6 separate regions of the Homo sapiens genome follow, and all the other regions are linked to region 6. Evidence: promoter capture Hi-C in 16 types of primary human blood cells and fetal thymus (Javierre and others, 2016). All regions are on one chromosome and are shown on one strand. The core of a region is centred on a gene start or on the middle of the fragment in contact, and the rest is flanking DNA. Distances in the headings are between cores, read along the strand shown.

What was found. Contacts are between HindIII fragments. The CHiCAGO score rates a contact against its expected background, and 5 or more counts as called.
Region 1: a fragment that was not itself captured here is called in contact with the fragment with the promoter of LMOD2 in region 6 in 9 of 17 cell types (total B cells, naive CD8 T cells, non-activated CD4 T cells and 6 more); the score reaches 8.7 in total B cells.
Region 2: a contact is called between a fragment that was not itself captured here and the fragment with the promoter of LMOD2 in region 6, in 1 of 17 cell types (M2 macrophages). The highest score is 7.0, in M2 macrophages.
Region 3: a fragment that was not itself captured here is called in contact with the fragment with the promoter of LMOD2 in region 6 in 1 of 17 cell types (M0 macrophages); the score reaches 6.0 in M0 macrophages.
Region 4: a contact is called between a fragment that was not itself captured here and the fragment with the promoter of LMOD2 in region 6, in 1 of 17 cell types (total CD4 T cells). The highest score is 5.6, in total CD4 T cells.
Region 5: a fragment that was not itself captured here is called in contact with the fragment with the promoter of LMOD2 in region 6 in 2 of 17 cell types (M0 macrophages and M2 macrophages); the score reaches 5.6 in M0 macrophages.

The regions. Positions count from the first base shown.
Region 1 is chr7:124,851,792-124,854,591 of GRCh38, forward strand. POT1 (protection of telomeres 1) reads right to left here. Exons shown (of 19, transcript NM_015450.3): 10 at 1,181-1,347; 11 at 81-160. Among named protein-coding and RNA genes, the nearest start is that of LINC03043, 62 kb to the left of the region's middle. The HindIII fragment of the contact is 164 bases long and covers 1,174-1,337 here.
Region 2 is chr7:124,821,508-124,824,265 of GRCh38, forward strand. POT1 (protection of telomeres 1) reads right to left here. Exons shown (of 19, transcript NM_015450.3): 19 at 879-2,567. The coding sequence ends at 2,455. Among named protein-coding and RNA genes, the nearest start is that of LINC03043, 32 kb to the left of the region's middle. The HindIII fragment of the contact is 2,607 bases long and covers 32-2,638 here.
Region 3 is chr7:124,769,653-124,772,352 of GRCh38, forward strand. No RefSeq gene overlaps it. Among named protein-coding and RNA genes, the nearest start is that of GPR37, 5.2 kb to the left of the region's middle. The HindIII fragment of the contact is 2,813 bases long and covers 1-2,691 here.
Region 4 is chr7:124,886,194-124,889,054 of GRCh38, forward strand. All of the region lies in intron 6 of POT1 (protection of telomeres 1), which reads right to left. Among named protein-coding and RNA genes, the nearest start is that of POT1, 42 kb to the right of the region's middle. The HindIII fragment of the contact is 2,475 bases long and covers 369-2,843 here.
Region 5 is chr7:124,790,547-124,793,364 of GRCh38, forward strand. It overlaps LINC03043 (long intergenic non-protein coding RNA 3043), which reads right to left and starts at 264. Exons shown (of 4, transcript NR_167671.1): 1 at 1-264. The HindIII fragment of the contact is 1,001 bases long and covers 875-1,875 here.
Region 6 is chr7:123,654,539-123,657,238 of GRCh38, forward strand. It overlaps LMOD2 (leiomodin 2), which reads left to right and starts at 1,328. Exons shown (of 3, transcript NM_207163.3): 1 at 1,328-1,698. The coding sequence starts at 1,426. The HindIII fragment of the contact is 9,966 bases long and covers 1-2,700 here.

The sequences.
Region 1 (2,800 bases), core at 6-2,505, 1.2 Mb after region 6:
AAGACATTACAAAGAATTATGTTGATAAAACTATTTTATTTAGCAAGAACTAAACTGTCAATGTTAAAGATTATCCTTACTTGGAAAGCTGTCGTCAGGTTCTGATTGACAGATAACATCTGAATGCTGATTGGCTGTCAAATTTGCAGATTCTAAATCCCTATAATTGAAAGAATACAATTTCAAATTGCATAAAACAAAGTCAATATAGTAAATTTAGCTCTACCCACAAAATCCAGAAATTCATTGAAATTGTATATAAAATTTTGTATGTATATGCATTCTTCAGTAAAGGATCTATTGCTTTCATCAGATTTTCCGGGGGTTCAAATTAAAAATCTGAGTTTAGAAAGATACAAGTGAAACAGCAGAATGATGAAATAATACAAACAAAAATAAACTGGGAATTTAATGGATAGCATTCTGAGTCAGAACAATCTAACTCTAGATTCAAGAAGCTAAATATGATATTAAAAATCAGTGAAATTGATATAAAAGTAATAAAACAGAAGCTAATTTAATGTCACACTAATTCCAATGAATTAAAATGTAGACAAAAGTTATTTAAATTTAATGAACAGTATGTTTTCTCTTTGAAGATATGAAGATTTTTTAAATTTCTAGAATATTGACCAAAATGCTTCTGCACACAATACTCACTAGGAATACCTTGGGAAAAGCAGATCTAAATATATAGCAGGTCTAAGATACTATTTACTTTCTGGCACATGTAAAAATTTTAAAAAGTTTAAAAGAGAGTGATACACCAAAACATGTGTTATCTATTTAATCAGTGGCACTTCAGAAATACATTTTTTTCATGAGAGAATTAAATATTTTTGGAATCTTAGATATGTATCAAATTTTCCAAACTTTAGCTAAGGTCTAGTTTCCCCTGTTTGTTGCTGTACTTGGAGAGTGTGGTAAATGATAGAAGAGAAGCATGAGTGTAAAAGCCAGATTCAAACTGTTGGAAAACTTCAACTATAACCCTGGCTCTGCTACTACTTAGCTCTATGAGCCTATAATCATTTGATTTGTTTCATTTGGCTCATCTATTTAAAAACATGGCAAATGGCACAAAAGGCTAGGGAACTATCAGAAGCCCCAGGAACAATATTATCTTAGAAATCGGCTTAATCGATACCTTATTTACATTTTCTAAATACTAAAAGCTTACTTTTTCAGTTGATCCACATCAGAGTTACTTTCTGGCAAGACCCTGATTCCCCGACCGTAACTGGTACCTCCATGAAGATGAAACTCTAAACTTAACATTGTCTGATTCTCTGAATTCATTGATTGAAGTTTGGTATGAAGGCTATAGATTCTAAGAAAGCTTCCAACCTAAAAAATAGATCATTTGTTATTTAGAAAGTGGGGAAAAATTAAAATACTTCTGATATTTAAAACTTTAATAACCAATATGGGGCCAATGAGGGCACTGACCAGTCAGGAAATATACTAAAGTATCTGCAAAGTATGCTATACGAGTGTGGTTGAATATCAGCTGCATGGACACTACATCAAAACTAAATATATGGACATGTGCATGCATATGCGTGTGTGCACACACATACATATACACACACATTCAACTGTAAGAGATATTTCCATTTCAGATCTATTAAAATGTGAAAAAATATTGTGTCTTAGCATCAATAAAATATAATGGTTAAGAAACCCATTACCTAAACGGAATTCAAGCCCTCTATTTGACTAAGGTTTCTGAAAATGCCTTGCTTTAACTAGTTTAAGGATTAATTAAATATGATCCTGAAGATACTGTCATTACAAGAATGCTAAGAAGAAATTTTAAATATGGTACTACCGAAAAATAATAAACATCTTCCATCTTACAAGTTCTATGGAAAGAAAACTTCTGCATTTGTGCCTGTACCACCACAGTGTGAAACACTCCTTGAGTTCAAACGTAAGAGTTAACTAATTAGAGTTTTGAATTAAATGTTCTATAGTTAATCTCAGATGTTTTGCTAAACTTAGTCTACAAATGTCTTTAATTATAGACCACTGAGATTTTTCTTTTAATGGAGATTTCAAATGAGAGAGATGCAGAATGCTATTCAAAGATATTGACACCTACCTAAAAGAAGCTATATAACCTAAATCACATTTATATTTATGAAGAAAGATTTAGAAGCAAAAGGAGTTACAAACAAGGAAATTTAATTCATTTGTATAAATATAGCACTCCTGACTACTGGATGACTATAGGGATACCACTTTTTTTCCCCTACAAGTTCAGGATTGAATAACAGACATCTTACATAACAAAAAAACTATATAGGTTAAATATTCTTTATCTGAAATACTTGAAAACAGAAGTGTTTCAGATTTCAGATATTTACAGATTTTGGAATATCTGCATATATATAATGAGCTATCTTAGAGATGAGACCCAAGTCTAAAAACGAAATTCATTTATGTTTCACATATATGTTATACACATCACCTGAAAGTAATTTTCTATAATATTTTCAATAATTTTGTGCATGACACAAAATTTTTGTACACTGAATAATTGGAAAGCAAAGGGTTCACTCGCATACTGGCACTCAAAAAGATCTGCATTTAGGAGAATTCTGGACTTTTAGATTATGGAGGCTCAATCCTATAAAAGGAAACGTTTAAAAAAAAAAGATGAGTAGCAAATCAACTTTCCAATTCTGCTTATTGTAGCTTCTCTTAATTATATTTCCCCTCATTACTCTTTATTTCTGATGGAGGATATAAGCAAAGGAGGTAAGGAGAAAACCCACACTCCCAGGTGCTACTCCTT
Region 2 (2,758 bases), core at 85-2,584, 1.2 Mb after region 6:
AGAGTTTTTAGCCTTTCCAGATCCCAAGAAAAGCTTCTAGAAAGTATAGAAGAAAATTGTCTGGATTCAGAGTCACACGTAGTGACAAATTCATGCTTTGATATCTAAAACAGGACTGCATAGTCAGCTGGGAAGTAGGCAGGAAAAAGATTTTGGTCCTTTTCTGTTACCTCCAAGTAGCTAAGGCACAGGATCTACACCAATTTGAAATCTGGGCAGCCAGTACCCAAATGGGTGAAGAGACTTTTTTAGGTAGACAGAGGTATAGTCAGCTTCTTCTAGACCATCAACATCAGTCTTTCTATAATTATTTAGAAACAATTTCCAACTTAAAGCATGAGCAGGGGTAAAAAGAAATGAGGAATGATACATTGTATCTTGGCATGTATAGTTCCCTCAAATACAGCAGTATAATTGAAGGTGGCCACAGAAAAAGCCTGTAAGTAGTGTGTTTCTCATTGCTACATCCAGATAAAGAATAATGGACTGTCTCAGATTTTTCTAAGACATACATTCTAAGAACAATACAGGGACAGCATGAGTCAATCCAGTAGTGTCTTAAAAAATGGAAGCTGCAGAAAGTGGAAACTGAGGGTGAGTCTGTACACAAACTTCTTTCTTAAATTTGTGTAATTTAAAATCTGACAGGAAGATTCTATCAGTGTTTACAGAAAGGGGCAGGGATCAAATTGGGGCACAATGAACTACCATTTAGTTGTTGCTCCAGAAATAAAATTCTCCTCTCTGGGTTCCTGATTAGCATAAAGTGCATACATCATCTCTAGAGAAACACTAGATGTTGATGGAATAATTCTTGCTAAAAACTGAAAATTTTTTTAAAAAGACAAGGACAAAACCCCACAATAAACCAAAAGAAATCATGATAAGGTGGATGTTTATTTAAAACAAAAATAAGAAGAGACATGGCCTATCATCATGAAGATTCATAGGAAGAGTTTTCCTTTGTTAACGTGGAGATCTTGCAGGCTCACAGTGTGAACATATGGCACCTTTGGACCTCTACTCTTCTAGATTGAGGGCTTCCTGAAGGCAGAAAAAATGTTTATTTCACCTTTGTATCCTGAGCACATCATCAACACGGAAACACACCTGTTCAACTGTAGGGTTTTAAAATATTTTTCCTGAAAATGTTTTGAACCAAGAGTCTATATTCTTGAAAATAAAATCAGTCTTTCTCATTGTCTCAAACAAGCTGATAAGTCGATGATGGGGGACATTGGTAGTTAGGTAAAGAAGATGTGTTAATGTACTCAGGAACTAGAATTTAGAGTTATTATGAGCAAAGAAAGTCAGTTATCCAATCTTTTTGACAATAAGATGTTAAAAGTATTTTGAAACTATAGAAAAACACACTGACTCCTCTTATAATCTATTTCCAATGTTATTTCAGATGTTTAAGTCAAAGACTCGTTGCAGAAAACTGTTAGCTTCTGTTCCAGAATCCTTGAGTGGTTAACAGTACAGGCTCTGAATAGAGATTATGTGAATTAAGGCACAGACTCTAGCTTTTACAAACTGTGTGAACTTAGTCAAGTCAGCTTATCAATCAAGCCTCAGATTTCTTATCGGAAAAATAGGTTGCTGTGAGGATCAAATACATGTTTAGTGCTTAGCACAGTACCTGGGATGTAGACAGCCCTAAACATCTGCTGCATTGCCACACCTATTTCGATTCTTTGCCTCATATCATTTTTCAGCTCAACTTAGGGCAAATAAATGAAACAGTTGAAATGTGTGCACTTATTTATTCTTCACTAATATTAAACCAGGTAATTTATATCTGTCTTTGGCAAATAACATACACAAATCTATATATATATATATAAATGTTTGTATAAAATTGAATATTCATGATTTTAAATTTGACAAACACTGTCAGGTAAAAATCAAACTATTTTACTAAGTTAACATCTCATTCAATTAGTTGTAAGTTGTAATAGCGGCATATTTTACATGAGACTATTAGAAAAGGATAATATTAAGTCATTAACATTATAAATCTGACCACTTTTATTAGGTTGAGGTGAAATAGAGAAATCTCTACTATCCTGGAGAGAAACAAGCAATAAAACCATGTATTACAAGTTTAAAGAAATGAATTTATCCTAAAATCATCAGTATCAGCACCCCAACAAAGCAACTTTGCCATTTCTACTTAAAGTACACTGTAGCTTGATCAGACACTTATCTCAGCAGTACTTGTTTAAGCAGGTCTCTTTGTACAAAAGCAAAACAGAAAGCAAAACAAAATCCATAGCCATTATTTACCTTGCACCCAGTAAAAGCCAAGAGATTTAAGGTAAGGACATTTTCTAATCCCATACCCATGCTAACATCATCAACATTGCTGATACAAAACTCAGGTCAGGAAAAGAAGCTCAAACAGGGAAGGTGAGTGGCAACATTTTATGTATGCTAAATTGGATGGCAATATTAGATTACATCTTCTGCAACTGTGGTGTCAAAAATCTGATAGCAAATTTGATTATCTGTTCCATTTGTGACATTGTATGACTTGATGAAGCATTCCAACCACGGATATGCATCTACAAAAACAAAAACAAAAAAAGCGATTTAACCATTAAAACAAAATAAATAACTCTGAAATAGGTACCTAAGCTTACCACTGAGCTAGAAAAATTAACATTTATTTTGGCTTGAAAAGTAAGTAAACGTCCCTTCCAAATTTAACATTATTCTCTCTTCAAAATACATACTAGATTCATGTTATTGTTTT
Region 3 (2,700 bases), core at 35-2,534, 1.1 Mb after region 6:
TGAAATTCAAAATTTGTCTGTTTTCCAAATAGTTTGTGGTTGCAGCCTTTCTGTCACTGAATTATTAATTGTTAGTTTGGAAGCCTCCATTGATCACCTTCATTAATCACCTCTCTCTTTTGCCATATATAAGAGCCAAATTATCATTAACGGGTGGGAAATGGCACTGCTTGGAATATAATATCAATATGGTTATGTCTACCTTAAAAATCAAATATCAAAATTAAAGTACTTAAAATTTAAAATAAAACAACAATAATCAAAATAGTCTTTTATTTATTCCAGACAAAAATGTAGACATTGGGCTACATAAAATATGTTTGAACCATACTTGGACCAGCACACTAATTGCATAGCCAAGTCCTTTGGGTTTTGTTGGATTCGGTTTGTTGTTGTTGTTGTTGTTGTTTGTAAAGAAACTTGAATGCAAAAGGGTGAAACTGAAGATGAATTAACACAAGCATAACCAAACATTCTCAACCTTTCATAATTCTTTATAGAAATAAATGCTTGTGAAATGCACCCCTACCTTTTGATCAACATCCTTTTTGAAGCAAAGATAATTTGGATACTTAGTTGGCCCTCAGCCAATAGCAATGTAGCAGGAGATCAGACCATCTCAGGCTTCAGCCTCTCATGACTTCTCAAATTGTGTATTTTCCCTAGCAAGCACATTAATTGTAAATCTTCCAAAAATCATAGTAAGCTGAACTTTTTAACAATTATCCAAAATAAATGTGATATAAAGATACATTTTATTGTATCTTTATAATACCAAAATAAATGTGATATAAAGATATACCAAAATAAATGTGATATAAAGATACATTTTACTTCCTTCTCCCAGAATTTGGGTACAAGCTGTATGCTATATCAATAAGATTCCTTCTGAGACTGTTTAAACCAAATCATCTTATTCTATATTGTTGCTCCATCTCTGACCAAGCATTATTATTTAAATTAGTTTTCTGTGTAATGTTGATACTGGATAATACACTAGAATAAATGCAAGTCAAGCCAAATTGCAGAAGTGTCAGCCTGGTTCAAATAACAAAGGCTAGCAAATTGGAATTTTTAGTATTCTGACCAGAATAATTTTTGTATACAGAGTCAGTAAGGAAGAGCATGGATTTCTATATGAAAAGTGAAAAGTTGAGATAGAAGGGATTTTAAAAGATAATACACCATTGATTTGGCTCTCCTGGCAACCTATTAAATTTTAGCTCTGGCAAAGAAATCAATTCAATGAACACGTACGTCTAAGACCTGAGTCTTGGCACATTTAGCATTATTTTCCTGATTAGTGGTTGAAATATAAATAGTACCAAAACAATATCTGCTTTGTGAGAGTTATAAAACTACCCTAAAGACTGGTCAAAAACAACAACAAATAGCTTTTCTAGTATAATCTTCCTGATTTGCTTGTTCACTTTTTAGAATCTTCTGCAGGTGATATTTTCTTTATTTGGATTGAGGTCCAGAAAGAAAGAAAAAAGTATCTCTGTGTTATATTTAGTTTTTTTAATTCACTCAGGATGTTGAGAGGGTGTGACTCAGTATTATCACAACAAATTGACCTGATAATGTAGACATTTTGAATGATCAACTTAATAGAATTTTAAGATTTGGCCCAAGGTTATGAAATTTGGATTGCCTGACATGACTAGTTTCTAGTGTTTGCATTGTCTTCCAAGGCCCCAGCTGGTCCATGGAATGCTTTTTCAAAGCTAGTTTCCTGCTTATTTCTTCATGAACTCAATATCCTTCCCTGAGCATCCCTGAGCACCAAAACAAAACTTTAGTTTTGAGTTTTAGACAGCAAGGAAACTGATTATCTCCTCTTGTGTTAAAGAGACTACACACATGTGATAACATGACTAAAGATCTTTGTGGTGGTCCAAAAGAAGCACCTCCTAGTGACTGCGAAATGTTCACAAGGGTGGTGTCTTTGGGGCCTTGTAGTATGTGGGCAGCGTCCCTTCTAAGATTTCAAGATGCTTTTCAGCTCACTAAAGAAAAGACACATTTGATCTCTGATAAGATTTTAATCAATGTAAATATTGGACTTCATAAAAGAATTGTACTTATAAGAGAATTTGACTGCTAAAAAACAATTAAAAGTCAATCATACAGTACTCCCCATTCCTTTCAGAAATAAGGAAACTGAGACCAAAGTGGGTGAGATTATTTGCCCTACATCATGTAGTGTAATAGAAATAGAACTTGGACTGAAAACCAAGGTTTTTGAGAGTGAAGGAAAGGGGCAAACCAGTCAGGAATTCTGAGAGGCTTCCTGAAGGAGGTGAATGGAGTAAGATACTGAAGTGAGTGGACAAAGAATCCATGTTGCAACAGAGTGACTGGCATCAGCAGACTGGGAGAAGAGAAAAAGGATGGTGTGTATGGAACTACAAGCAGTTCAGTGCTGCTAGGAACAATGGCTGATACTTTTTGTTCTTAAACAAGCAAACAAACAAACAAACGCTTAGTCATTATATTGTTTTTGAAGAATGTCTAATTAGGATAATACTTATTATTTGGCCACTTATTCCAAGCCTAATGATCTTCAAATATATATTAATCTCTTTATTCAGCAATATTTATTGCCTGCCTCCTATGTGCCACATACTGTGCTAGGTGGACTAGATATACAATGGTGAGAAAAGCAGTTTATGGCCCAAATCCTCAAGAAGCTTACGT
Region 4 (2,861 bases), core at 356-2,855, 1.2 Mb after region 6:
AAAAATTCTAGCTAATGATATGTAACAGAATACACTTTTTCCATCTACCTAAATGTGAACTGCATAAAGGTAATTTTCCACCACATAACTAGCTATATACATCTGGATGTTATTTAGATTGTAGCCCTGTATTTGTGAAAAAGTACTGCTTTAGGTAATATTTTAAAAGGCACAGCTGTGGACTGTTCCTGTACATCTATTCTTGTACTTCTCTGTGGTAATACTAATGAAGGTTATCTTTTCCTGAACACAAATATCAGTGCTATTTCTCTAATATAACTGTAACTGAAGTTACTAGAGAGAGTTTTAAAACTTTATTGTCTGGCTAGTAGTCAAGACATCTTGCTATGTCTTAAGATTTATTTAAAAGCTTCAACGACCAGGTTCAGATAAAATTGATGACATTCATTTTAATTTAGTATCTTAGAAGAAACAAACATATTATCTTGGTAATAAAAGATGGCTCATTACTAGCCATGAATTTTTTACTACGGGACTGCAGTGATTGAAGTAAACATATCTGATAGAGATATAAGACACATATGAAAATATAATACATATTCTTGTTCCCCATGGCTTTCATTTTATATGCAAGATTTAATAACATTATCATGAGAAAACATGATTTTTCTAATAACAACTGAAAATTAATGTTGTCATCAATGTTTTAACAGAGCTATCATTTTAGTCTATATTATCATATTTTAAGTTTTTTTTAAAATGATGTATTTGCAGATCAACTTGTTAAAAAAACTTTTTAAATTATATCTTCTATAGATACATTATTAGCAACAATGTAGCTTATTCCTAAGTTTGGTGGGCCAATTAAATTCAACCAGGTAAAACTTCAAATTCGAAGAGGATCATAGTGATTACATCTTTATGGCTAACTCCCAGAAGGGGCAGCACACGTAACATTTGAAGAAAATTGATGGGGAGAGGAAACTACTAAGGGAAAAGTATGTGAGTTTATGTTGAACAGTATGATGGGGTGGGGAAATGAAGACTCTGGGAATAAGCTGAAATGAGAATATTTGAAAAATAGGTCTTCAAGCACAAATTTCTCTACTTCAACTTTAATGTTCCCCTTTCCTCTACAACAACAGATATTAAAAGGATTTTCCACAAAACATTCTTTGCAGTCTTCAGGCTTAGTATGAGGTTTATTTAAAACTTATCTCCGTATTTAATAGTCTTCGCAATGTTCATTTACACACAGACTAGTTTTTTTTACATTATACGTTAATAAAATATGCTGACCACAAGAAAAAGATTTTCCCACATCCACCTGACCAAAGAGTAGATTCCTAGTTCATTCCTCAACAATAAAATTTGTATATCTTTATTTTAAAAATGGTTTTGTAATATGAAGTCAATGAGAACATCTTTGTGTTTGCAACATGATCACAACTCCTGGCATGCAGGAGATAAAGTCTACATTTCATCAACAACATCCATGTTTCACTATTTAACATCTCTGAAATACGGCTCTATCTTAAAATTGACAGTTAAGCATAGTTTAATTAGCATTTTTCCCTTCTGAATGATACATAAAATGATAAAGCCTTTTACAGATAATGGTGTTTTAGAATAGATGAAATACAATAAACAATGTTAAATTTAGTAAAATTAAATTAAACACAGGTGAAGTGTGTGTTTCTGTTCACTTTATTACCTCACAATAAACTGAAATTCATGGCTTTTGATGTTTTCGTTTACATGTTTGTTAAAACCTTACATTATCATATAGCAATTAATAGGTTATACATTTTTACTTTACTTTTAAAACTATCCAAATATATATACACCTCTGTATCAGTTCATATATATGTATATATGTATATAAAATCATGGCCAGGGCCAGTGCCAGGAAACCTTTCCCCTGTTTTATTCCAGAACATTCAGTTTCAGGTCATACTCTTAAGTCTTTAATCCACATTGAATTGATTTTTTTGTGTAGGATCTAAGGATCCAATTTCTTTGCATGTGGATATACAGTTTTCCCAGCCCCATTTGGTGAAGAGACTATACTTTCCCCATTATATATTCTTGCACCCTTGTCGAAAATCAGTTGACCATAATAAACGTGTGGGCTTATTTCTAGGCGCTCTATTCAATTCCATTAATCAGTATGTCTGGCTTCATGGCAGTACCATACTGTCGCAATACTGTTACTTTTTAACGTATTTTGAAATTAGAAAGAGAGAAGCCTCCAGGTTTGATCTTTCTCAGGATTCTTTTGGCTATTCAGGGTCCTTTGTGTTTCCATATGAATTTGAAGATTGATTTTTATTTTTCTATAGAAAATGCTACTTGGATTTTGATAGGGAATACATTGAATCTGAGATGACTGAGTAGTATGACCATGTTAATAAAGGCATAACTCATGTAATTGTACTTTACTTTGTTGTACTTTGTAATACTGCAATTTTATAAATTAAAGGTTGTGGCAACTCTGCATTGAGCAAGTCTACTGTCACCATTTTTGCAACAGTATGTGCGTCTATGTTACATTTTGGTAATCCTCACAATACTTCAGACTTTCCCATTTTCACTGTATCTGTTATGGTGATCTGTGATCAGTGATCTTTGGCATTACTATTATAATTGTTTTGGGGTAGCACAAATCACACCCATATAAGACAGTGTACTTAACCAATAAATATGTGTATTCTAACTCCCCCATCAACCTGTCATTCCCCTCTCCCTCTCCTGAGGCTCCTTATTCTCTGAAACACAACAATATTGAAATTAGATGACTTGATAACCCTATAATGGCCTATAAGTGTTCAAGTGAGAGAGTCACATGTCTCTCACTTTAAATCAAAAGTTACAAATGATGAAGCTTAGGAAGGCATATA
Region 5 (2,818 bases), core at 125-2,624, 1.1 Mb after region 6:
CATGTTTGTCAAAGAGTAGATTTCTGCTTCATCCTGCGTGATTTCAGGAGCCTTGGTACAAACCCTTTCTGCTCCCATTACTTCCAGTAACTTTCACCATCACTCTCAGGAAGCCCTCTCTCAGAAGCGGATTTCTGCCTGCTTCACTTTAACGTCTCTCAAGTTGGATACCCAGCGTGGTCCTCCTACTGAAACAAGAGTGCCAGCTATACCAACAGAAAATCTTTTTACATGCCTATCTGATTTGGCTCAAAATGAAGGAGCAGAGAGCCCAACTCTGAAGTGAAAGCAGAAACACTGAGCAGTAAATGACAAAATTAGCTTTGCTCTCAGTGGTTTCTGACAACCCCGTGGCAGGACTGGGGTGGAAGGAGGAAGGAGATAAAGCCTAAAACCTTAATACAGCTTGGACCCCAGAGTACTAAACGATCGGAGCAAAGGTGAATGAGAAGTAAATCCTCTCCTTTAGAAAAGGATCAAAAAGAAATATGTCTGTCCAGAACTTGGTGCCTCCTTAGAGGATTTATAACCATTAGCAAGCTTTCTCGCGAGTCTTTAGTTCAAATTTTCACCATTTTTCTTGTCTGAAGAAAGTTTGAGGGGAAATTTTAAGTTAAGTTAGTCCTGGCTTTAGTTTTCTAAAAATAGAACTTCAAGATATTGAAAAGATAAACCTTAAAATGAAGAAACCCAGAGAAAGGATTATACAGCAGATTTGTATAGTTGAAAAGAGAATGATTGAATCTGCAGGGAAAAGAAATTATCCAGAATGTGAAAGCACAAGTAGGAAAAGTAAATGACAGAGTAAAAGAAATATGCAGCTATTCAAAGTTCCAGAAAGAATAGCAGAGACATTGGAAGAGATGGTGGCTAAAGCTTTTCCAGAACTGTTAAGGGACATCGGTATTTAAATTCAGGAAGCTCAATGAATCCCAAGCTGAAAACAATTAATTAACACCTAAAACCATTATAATAAAATTGCAGGGGCCCCTAAGGGCAAAGAAATTATAAGCTATAATTTTTTGCTCTCAATGATGTCACTGTCTGCAGTCGGGTAGAAGACCCTGAATTTCCTGTTTTACGGCATTTATTTTTGGAATGAGAGGCCCTCATGACTGTTGGGTCTGTTAATCCTGGTTTCCCTCTCCATCCCACTTTCATTTCCCCATAGCACTCGTTAATAGGAAGACTAACTCCTGCAAACCTATAATTTCATTCTGGCTCCAATGAAGTCCTGAAAATCCAGAATCTCAAATACAGCAGTCTATCTAAAACAGGGTGGAGACTCAACATCTCTCCTTCCCAACGCTGCTCTTTGTGATCCTCTAACTTTACTTTTCAATCGTTGGTGCTTGTCTATGTCCATTGCATATTTAGCTGACTTCTCAGCACATGCCTCATTTTTGTTTCTCTTTTGGACCCAAAGGATCATCATTTCTATGAAGCAAAAATGAGACACAAAACTGTACAGGTAGAATGACCTTTACCTCCACTCAGCACATAAAAACACACACACACACACACACAGGCACACATACTTGCACACATTTCCAAAGGGCTGTTAATGTTAGGATAGGAGAAACCACTGGTAGGACATCAGAAGAACTGGAATTTAAAGGAATAATAAAGTGATGAATCAGCAGAGGTTAACTCAGGTAAAGAGATGTCAAAGATGTAACTTGGATAAGAGCAACTACTCTACTAATGAGCTTCCATCTGGAAGATGTCAGAAGAATGTCACTGAAGGAAATTTTTCTGTTTCTTCTGAGTAACAGAGACAAGTTCTTTTAGTATGATGTCATTTAGTCTATACAACCTTCTATTCCTTCTTAACTCTCTCATGAATTGACCTCCTGGTAATTCTCATTCACTGAAAGCTTGAGGATCTGATTCGCAGTTTTCATCTCTGCCTCAATCTTCATTTTACAATTCAAAAAAAAGTGGAAATCTCATGCAGCACTACATCTACTGTTTCCTTGGCTTTCTGTCTCCAGTGATCTTAATGGTCTTCACCTCCGCTCCACTTTAGTTACAGACACTCAATACCATACCCTAGGCTTTATCATCACCTGCTGTTTCTCCACCTCTGAAATCTTAACCCGAAAGTTCACTATTTGAGTACAGATTCTTACTCTTCCAGCTACTCTTCCAGCTCTTGCATTCTGTTACTTCCATTAAACATTAATTTTTACTTCACAGCGATCTCAGTTCTTTTGAATCCACTTCTACAAAATTATTTTGATATTCACATCCTTTATAACTCAGTTTAGACCTCAATGATTCTTCTCTTGTATTCCAGGTCCTACAATCACACCTCTTAAATATTCCAGGAATCTCTACTCTTCTCTCTATTTCCATTATCACCACCCCAGTTTAGGTCACCATTACCTCTCACATAGATTACTCAGCAATATCCTCTTTGGCCTTCCTGACCCTAGTGCTTCCAAACTCCCTTTCCAACTCATTCTCTGCACTGCAGTGAGAATTATCTTTCTATAATGCAAATGTGGCCATGCCATTCCCGCTTTGAAAGCACTTTAATGACGTCTAGTTGCTTCTGGAATAAACTACATATTCCTAAATATCGCTTACACATTTTTCATGATCTGGGACCTGCTTTCCTCACAAGCCTCTCTCTTAACCTTCTCATTCTATCTCACCCCATATTTCAATAGCCTGAGATATGTTGGGTTTACTGAATTTTCCATGCCCGTTCCCACCTCTAGGCTTTTGCACATGTTTGTTCCTCTTCCTGAAGCAGGAATCTGTACTTCATCCTCTTCCTGTGTTACTCTCCCAATCCTAATCATTCCTTAAG
Region 6 (2,700 bases), core at 78-2,577:
ATGAAAACCTGAGGTTACTCAAACACTTGCATGTAAATGTTCATAGAAACTTTATTCATAGATAAAAGGTAGAAACCCAAAGCTAGAAACAACCCAAATATTCACCAGCTGCTGAAGGTATAATCAGAATATCATGTACTATACATGTATTGATAAATGTATTTTTGTATGCATTAATATTTTTAATAGATTTTACATATCTATAAAATGGTGTTATATTTATGGAGTCCTATAAACTATGGATTTATTTTAACATATACACAACAATATGCTCATATATAATTTCTTTTTTTAATTTGTGCAAATGTATGGAGTACATAAGAAAATTTGTTGTATATATATAATATGTAGTGATTAAGTCATATATATAATTTCAAATTAGCATCTCTTCCATTTTCAGGCCAGATACAAATCTGGGCTCAGATTCTAGCTCTCTCACTTCTTAGCTCTGTGCTCCCATGCTAGTAACTTAACCTCTCTGAGTGTGTACTAGTTAAGTACAGGCACTAATGTACACCTTACAGGACTGTAGAATTAAAGGAGATAATGCTTAACACTGGAATGGCATAATGTCAGTCCTTAATAAATCATATCCAGTATTATTATTTGTATTTTTCGAGTTTCATTTGCAAGTCTAGATTTTTACTAGTAATCATGGTGAGTAGGAAGAAGCATTTCGTTCAGTGGAGAAAGACACCTCTCTGTACTTTCAGCTCTCCAACTTCTGACGTTTCACTTAATCTCTGAGAGCCTCAGTTGCCAACATCTATAAATGAGAATCATGTTATTCATCTCACAGTATTTATGATTAGAAAAACTTATTGAAGTGCTTTGTAAACTGCAAAGTAGGATAAAATTATGAAATACTATATTATTATGACCTTTTGTCCCCATCAATACCACCTACAGTATGTTTATAGAAGAACCAAAATAACTACCCATGGAGTATTGTGGAGACATTTCTCAACCCTAAGATTATAATGAAAGAATCTTTTCATGGCCATGGAGGTGGTGGCAAGTCATTTTCAAAATAAATTTTATTTCCCTGTTGTTTGAATACAAAGTGAGAAGAACTGTGTTACTCCTTATCTGAAACACTCTGCCTGTCCTCATGAGCTATCAGACTCAGCTAAATATGGCCCTGGCCAGTATGTTAATAATCCCCACTGGTTCTGAGACCTCCATCCACCACCGATGTGACATTCTTTGTGTTCAAATGTCTAGCTGACGTCTGATGCTTAAAACAGCCCATGCCTTCACCCCTCTCTGCATTGTCACAGCCCTGTATCACCACTCTTAAAAGGCTCCCACAGCCACTCCTAGCACCAGTTGTTGACCAGCCTGCCACTTGCCTCCCTGCCTGCTTCTGGCCGCCTTGAATGCCTGGTCCTTCAAGCTCCTTCTGGGTCTGACAAAGCAGGGACCATGTCTACCTTTGGCTACCGAAGAGGACTCAGTAAATACGAATCCATCGACGAGGATGAACTCCTCGCCTCCCTGTCAGCCGAGGAGCTGAAGGAGCTAGAGAGAGAGTTGGAAGACATTGAACCTGACCGCAACCTTCCCGTGGGGCTAAGGCAAAAGAGCCTGACAGAGAAAACCCCCACAGGGACATTCAGCAGAGAGGCACTGATGGCCTATTGGGAAAAGGAGTCCCAAAAACTCTTGGAGAAGGAGAGGCTGGGGGAATGTGGAAAGGTAGGCTCTCGGGACTTTTCCTTGGCTAACCCCACCTCCCCATCACCCCATCCCAAACCCAGACACTTGTTTTCCCTAACTTCTCAATCCTCATCACTTGAATTTTCCTATAACCCATTTATACTTGCTACTAAATCATTTTTCAGGCTGAAATAATCATGTAAATGCTATGGCCACCCAATGGATCATAATATGTAAAATTCTTAATTGGGGCTCTTTGATTGATTACAAATAGAAAGCTCAAGAGGAAAATAATTCACAATCAGTGTATGGGATTCAATATTTTGCCAAACATAAGTGTTGTTTGAGCTATATGTTGGTAATGTGGCATAATATTTGTTCCCAAGATACATGCATACGTATAAATGTATACTTTTTTTTCAGTTAAGTACATTTATTTTCTCCTATAAAGACAAAAGTGGGAACGCTGGTTGCTTTGACTGTGATAGTAGCTATGGTGAAATAGTTCTTTTCCAATACCAAGAAGTGTGGGGTGGTGGGAAGTACATGACACTGAGAGTCACAGGGCCTTGTTATGAGTCCCTGCTCTGTTCCCACATCTTTAGACCTTGAACAATCACTTTTACAGGGTTCTCTTTCCCTCTGGACATTGAGGGAGTTAGAGACAGTGTTTCTTTTGCGAATCAAGAACCCCTTTGAGATTTTGATAAGTTATGAACCTTCTTAAGAAAATAGCCCTGGGCTTGTGCAAAATACACCAACTTTTGCATAGAATTTCAAAATGATAACACATCCTGAAACCCATCTGAGGACTCAGGGGCAGCACAGCTGTATAGATGATCTCTTCGATTTCTGTCTCCTTTACGATGGTGATCCTGAGGTTAGGAAATGTGCTTATATCAGAGCTCAGGCCTATAAAGCTCTTGTGTACTGCCCAGTAAACAGTTATTTTGAATTTGCCAAATGAGTCAATACCAGAAGGAAGTCCAAAAGACTATTATTCTCTGGGAAAACAGTAATGACAATAAAGTGTCCATATAA